Regions from separate parts of the Homo sapiens genome. Here region 2 is linked to region 1. The links are contacts of gene promoters, found by promoter capture Hi-C in blood cells and fetal thymus (Javierre and others, 2016). All regions are on one chromosome and are shown on one strand. Each heading gives the region's core, a stretch centred on a gene start or on the middle of the fragment in contact. The rest is flanking DNA. Distances are from core to core; before and after follow the strand shown. Region 1 holds the start of ZNF461 (zinc finger protein 461). Region 2 holds the start of ZNF551 (zinc finger protein 551).

Region 1 (3,140 bases), core at 236-2,735:
ATCCTGAAAAATATTCTTAAGTTTGTCTTTGAATACAGACAAAAGGACATAAATATCTTTTAGTAAGAAGTTGCAGAGGCCGGGCGCGGTGGCTCACGCCTGTAATCCCAACACTTTGGGAGGCAGATGCGGGCGGATCACGAGGTCAGGGGCTCAAGACCAGCCTGGCCAACATGGTGAAATCCCGTCTCTACTAAAAATACAAAAATTAGCTGGGTGTGGTGGCGGATGCCTGTAATCCCAGCTACTCGTGAGGCTGAGGCAGGAGAACTGCTTAAAACCCGAAGGCGGAGGTTGCAGTGAGCCGAGATCGCGCCACCGCACTCCAGCCACGGTGAAAGAGAGAAACTTCGTCTCAAAAAAAAAAAAAAAAAAAGGAAGTTGCAGAACAATGTGTATTGTGGCCAAATCTCAGAAAAAAAAAATCAAACACATAGGTACATAAGCATACTACATATGTGGTGTTTTTCTGAGGCTGTAATGATAAATGCGGGGTAGCAATGTGATTTTCGCTTGTGTTGTGTGTGTAAATCTACAGCTAACTCCTCAAGTAGTCAGGAAAGGATGAGAGATGGATGAATGACAGATCTCTGGAGTGGGGCGTCCTGAGCCTTAGATGTGTGCACAGGAGCGGGGTGAGGTGAATGTGCGTGTGTCTGTGTGTGAGAGACCAGAGTTGACTGAGAGGAGTGGAAGCTCTCTGCCTGATCGTGTGAGCCTGAGGATAACGTGAATGTTTTTTTGTTTTTTTTTTTTTGAGACAGTTTCGTTTCACTCTTGTTGCCCAGGTTGGAGTGCAATGGCGCGATCTCGGCTCACAGCAACCTCCGCCTCCCGGGTTCAAGCGATTCTCCTGCCTCAGCCTCCCAAGGAGCTGGAATTACAGACATGCACCACCATACCCGGCTAATTTTGTATTTTTAGTAGAGGTGGGGTTTCTCCACGTTGGCCAGGCTGGTATCGAACTCCCGACATCAGGGCATCCACCCGCTTCGGGCTCCCAAAATGCTGGGATTACAGGGGTGAGCCACCGCTCCCGGCCTGTAAATGTGCTTTTTCTTTCACGTAAATAAATGAGATTTACACAAATAGCCATTCACAATCATGGTCACAGTCACCTACAAACCCCATTTACACAAATGATCAGGCACACAATCACACTGTCACTAAAGCACACCCACGCACCAGGTCGCTGTCCCAACAGTAACACACAGCCCAAAGAGAAACCCTACTTCCTCACGCATTCAAAACACACCCACCTAAGGGCTGATCCCGCACTCAGAGGCCTAAAACTATAGACATTCCCTTCCGCGGCACTGGTGAGCCAGGATTTCTTACCTTCAGCATTCTCAGGGAAGGCTCTGGTCCAAGCTCTGATTCGGATTCCAAGCGAAGCCACACGCCCAGCTCTTCCTTCTCCACCGGCCCGGGACATCCTTACCTGCCTCTACCCGGAGACCATTCCTGCGAGGCTCCTACCGGAAGTAGCTGTGGACAGCAGTGTCCTCTGGGAAATGCAGTCCGAGGGGAGAGCGCCTGGGGTGGAGCGGGTGTGTTCCGCCGGGCTCCGGGATGCACTTGCGCAGTTTCACCCGAGGCTGGAGTGACGCCAACCTGTTAATGTTCGTTTTCGGATTCTGGACTTCGGGTTCCGCTGAGGACGGATTTCGGAATAGGCACAGTGGCTGCCCCGAACCCCTCAAGGCGGCCTCCGCGGGCTGTGGCTGAAGATAATTTTCGGCGGGCGCGGACTAACCCGGCTTCCCTTTGTGGAGTTGTGGTGAGAAAGGTGTTTTGTTGTGCGCGTGTCCGAAGGTGACTCCGGAGGAGAAGGTGGATATGAACTGACGGTGAGGGTGTAGCGCGTGAGATTTGTATGTGAAACGATTTAAAAAAAAATTTTTTTTTTGGCCGGGCGCGGTGGCTCACGCCAAGGCGGGCGGATCACCGAGACCAGCCTGACCAACATGGAGAAACCCCGTCTCTACTAAAAATACAAAATTAGCCGGGCGTGATGGCGCATGCCTGTAATCCCAGCTACTCGGGAGGCTGAGGCAGGAGAATCGCTTGAACCCGGGAGGCAGAGGTTGCGGTGAGCCGAGGTCGCGCCATTGCACTCCAGCCTGGGCGACAGAGCAACTCCTTCTCAAACAAACAAACAAAACTGTATGTCATATATTTGACTCCATTTATTTATTTATTTAGAGACAGAGTCTTCTTGCCCTGTTGCCCGGGCAAGAAAAAACAAACAACAACAACAACAAAAAACTGTACGTCATATATTTCACTCAACTTTTTTTTTTTCTTTTTTTTTTTTTGAGACGGAGTCTCGCTGTCGCCCAGGCTGGAGTGCAGTGGCGCAATCTCGGCTCACTGCAAGCTCCGCCTCCCGGGTTCACGCCATTCTCCTGCCTCAGCCTCCCGAGTAGCTGGGACTACAGGCGCCCGCCACCTCGCCCGGCTAATTTTTTGTATTTTTAGTAGAGACGGGGTTTCATCGTGTTAGCCAGGATGGTCTCGATCTCCTGACCTCGTGATTCGCCCGCCTCGGCCTCCCAAAGTGCTGGATTACAGGCGTGAGCCACCGCGCCCGGCCTCTTTTTGAGACAGGGTCTTCATGCCCTGTTGCCCAGGCTGACTGCGGTGGCGCGATCCTAGCTCACTGCAGTCTCCACCTCCTCAGCTCCTCCCGCATCCACCTCCCAAAGTGCTGGGATAGCAGGCGTGAGCCACCGGGTCAGGCCAAAACGATTTATTTTATTTTTATTTTTTTGGTAAAGACAGGGTCTCGCTATGTTGCCCAGGCTGGTGGTCTCGAACTCCTGGGCTCAAGCGATCCTCCCGTCTCAGTGGCCAAAGTATTGGATGACAGGTGTGAGCCACCGCGCTGGGTGGTGAAACGGTTTTGAGGCTTTTTGAGAATGGCTGTTCTATATGCCCGCGTGGGGCTCATGCGGCGAGCGCCGCCACTCCCGCAGTGGCCCCTGTGGGGGTGATACGTGATGTGGCTTAAATGTGAGAGGCCACCTGGACCCGTGTGATTGCCACGTTTGCAGGAGCGCAGCCACGTGCACAGGGATCTTGTGACATTCTGTGTGAGGCTTTTTGCGCTGGGTCCACCCATGATTAGAGGACTAGTG
Region 2 (3,140 bases), core at 427-2,926, about 21 Mb after region 1:
AGACACTGTCTCAAGAACAAAAACAAAAAAGCCCAGGCGCAGTGGCTCACCTGAGGTCAGGAGTTCAAGACCAGCCTGGCCAACATGGTAAAACCCTCGCTCTACTGAAAATACAGAAATTAGCCGGGCATGGTGCTGGCGCCTGTAGTGCCAGCCACTTGGGAGGCTGAGGCAGAAGAATTGCTTGAACCTGGGAGGTGGAACTTGTGGTGAGCCAAGATCAAGCCATTGCACTCTAGCCTGGGCAACAGAGTGAGACTCCGTCTGGGAAAAAAAAAAAAAAAAAGAACTGATAAACAAATTCACCTGTGTAGCTGAATTCAAAGTCAACATGCAAAAGTCAACATGTAAAACTCATATGCCCTTCCATACACTAACAATGAAAAATCTGAAAAGGAAATTAAGAAAACAATATCATTTGCAATAGTAATGTATATGGTCAAATGATCTCAACAAGGCTACCAAGACCACTCAATGGGGAAACGATGATCTTTTCAGCAAATGATGCTGGGAAAATGAAATATTCACATGCTAAGGAATGAAGGTGAACCCTTACCTAACACCAAAAACACAAATGAACTCAAAATGGACTAAAAACCTAAACATAAGACCCAAAACTATAAAACACTTAAAAGAAAATATAGGGTGAAAGTTTTATGACATTGAATTTGGCCATAATTTCTTGGATTTGACACCAAATACACATGTGACAAAAGAAAAATAGACCAATTAGACTTCATGAAAATTAAAACTTTAGTATATCAAACAATAACAAAGTGAAAGAGGAACCTATTTAATGAGAACAAAATACAGGTTGAATATCCCTGAGCCAAAAATCTAAAATCCAAAATGCTCCAAAATCCAAATTTTTTTTTTCTTTTTTTTTTTTTGGAGACGGAGTCTCCCCCTGTCGCCCAGGCTGGAGTGCAATGGCGTGATCTCGACTCACTGCAACCTCTGCCTCCCAGGTTCAAACGATTCTCCTGCCTCAGCCTCCCAAGTACTGGGATTACAGGCGCTCGCCACCATGCCCGGCTAATTTTTGTATTTTTAGTAGAGACAGGGTTTCACCATGTTGGCCAGGCTGGTCTCGAACTCCTGATCGCGTGATCCACCCACCTTGGCCTCCCAAAGTGCTGGGATTACAGGCGTGAACCACTGCGCCCGGCCCGCCCGACTAATTTTTGTATTTTTAGTAGAGATGGGGTTCCGCCATGTTGGCCAGCCTGGTCTCGAACTTCTGACCTCAGGTGATCCGCCCGCCTCGGCCTTCTAAAGTGCTGGGATTACAGGCGTGAGCCACCGCGCCCAACCCCCTGAAATAATATTTGTTTGCCTCTAGGGGCACCCTGAGCTTCGTGGAGTCTGAAATAATGTCTCTAAACACTTAAGTGATCAGTTACGGAAAACACTTCCCAGAAATCTGGGAAAAGCCCCTTTAAGAAGGAGTAAATACCTCCTTCTCCCCTAGAGGCCGAAGTCGCCATTTCCCTGCACGGGGCACAGCACCTCAGAATACAAGTTCGCAGAGGTCAAAGCAGTGGACACACTCCGAAGAGCTCCGTGGAGTTTTGGAAACTACATTATCCAGAGTGCAGAGCGCAAAACGGCGGCGGAGTTGAGCCAATGACAGCCCAGGATAGCAACACTTCCGCGCACGCGCAGCGCGACGGGCCGGAACTTCCGGCGTCCTCCTCGTGGCGGTCATTTTGGCCTCTGTCCTGTTTGTCCAGCCCGCCAGTTTCTGCAGTGGAGGTCGCGACTGAGGGACGGGACAGAGAAGTCGCGAAAGTGGGCCAGAGGTTCTGCGACACCACCTCGGGTGAGCTGCGCCAGGCCCGGGATAGGGACTGTTGTGTTCGAATGCCCGCCCCGGTCGGCCGCCGCTCCCCGCCTAGTCCACGGAGCTCAATGGCGGCAGTCGCGCTGAGGGACTCGGCTCAGGTGAGTTGTGCGTCCTCCGGGTCTCGCCTACCTCCCCCAGCAGAAGCCTTAAGGCCCAGTGAGGGATGCCTGCTCACAGCCCTGCAGCCCAGGCCCCAGTACCCTGGACAAGAAGGCGCTTGTGGATTGGACCCGTTTGTGACGCCCAGTGTGTACGGAAATGTGACGGGCAGTTGACTGGCGCGTGCAGAACTTGGAGCTGCGACTAAGCTGGGGGGGATTCAGGAGCCTGGGGTCCGTCTCGGGTCTGCAGGAACATAGAGTGAGGCAGAGTTGCACCTGACGAATTTGACGATTCTGAGGACACTGGCAGCCTTCGAGATTTGTGAACAGATAGGGACACTGGGCTAGGATTTCCTAAAGCTATCCAAAAGTTGCTCAGGGGAAGAACAGGCTGAAGAGAGGTAATAGTAGTTAGGCATAGGAAGACTGAGTTCTTGTCCAAGCTCACGCAGCTGGTAAAGTCAGCACTGAGAACTGAGGTGCGGAGATAGTGCAGCCAGCCCAGGCCACCTGGCTCCAAAACTGGACCAGGGTCATTGGGCGACCTGAGCCTCGCCACTCGTCTAGCCTTGGGCCCTGAGACTTTGAGCAAATACAAAGCCCAGAGTCTTAAGTCCAGGTTAGATTATATGAAGCTGTTGGCAGCCGGGGGAAAGGAGATGTAGAAGGTTGTCCAAGGCAAAGTTACCAGTATATGCTAAGTTTGGAGAGGAGGCTAAGATAGTTCAGGAACCTACAATTATTTTCTTTTCATGAGAACAGGGAGCAGTGTAGTAGAAGTCAGACCCGGAATGGTTCCCTGAGAAGTTGAGTTGTCTATTCGTTACTTAATAGTAACAGTGGGAGGTTTGGAGTGGAAGAGGGAGGTGATCTGGTTCTGGTCTTATTAGGCTCCCTGTGGCTGCAGCATGGGAAGCCAACTGAAGGATGAGGTGGGGAGACCTGGGAGGAGACTACTGGGATAGGCCAGGTGAATGTGATAGAATGTGATAGGCCAAAATGGTGGCTGTGAAGATGCGAGAAGCAGTTGGATTCTGGATTCATTTTTTAAGTAGGGCTGCCTGAATTTTTAGTTTTGAGAAAGAGAGTGGAGTCAGGGATGACTGAAAGGTTTTATTTTGGCAGTTAGAAGTGTGGAAGCTCCATCAACTAAGATGGGGAAGTACATAGTAGGAGTAGTTTTCATTTGGGAT

What was found. Contacts are between HindIII fragments. The CHiCAGO score rates a contact against its expected background, and 5 or more counts as called.
Region 2: the fragment with the promoter of ZNF551 here is called in contact with the fragment with the promoter of ZNF461 in region 1 in 1 of 17 cell types (total CD4 T cells); the score reaches 5.8 in total CD4 T cells.

Annotation. Positions count from the first base shown.
Region 1 is chr19:36,665,352-36,668,491 of GRCh38, forward strand. It overlaps ZNF461 (zinc finger protein 461), which reads right to left and starts at 1,486. Exons shown (of 6, transcript NM_153257.5): 1 at 1,339-1,486. It also overlaps a transcript of ZNF567 not described here. RefSeq lists an enhancer at 1,663-1,792. The HindIII fragment of the contact is 6,595 bases long and covers 1-3,140 here.
Region 2 is chr19:57,680,301-57,683,440 of GRCh38, forward strand. ZNF551 (zinc finger protein 551) reads left to right here and starts at 1,677. Exons shown (of 3, transcript NM_138347.5): 1 at 1,677-1,944. The coding sequence starts at 1,864. RefSeq lists an enhancer at 1,369-1,992 and a silencer at 2,048-2,117. The HindIII fragment of the contact is 7,295 bases long and covers 1-3,140 here.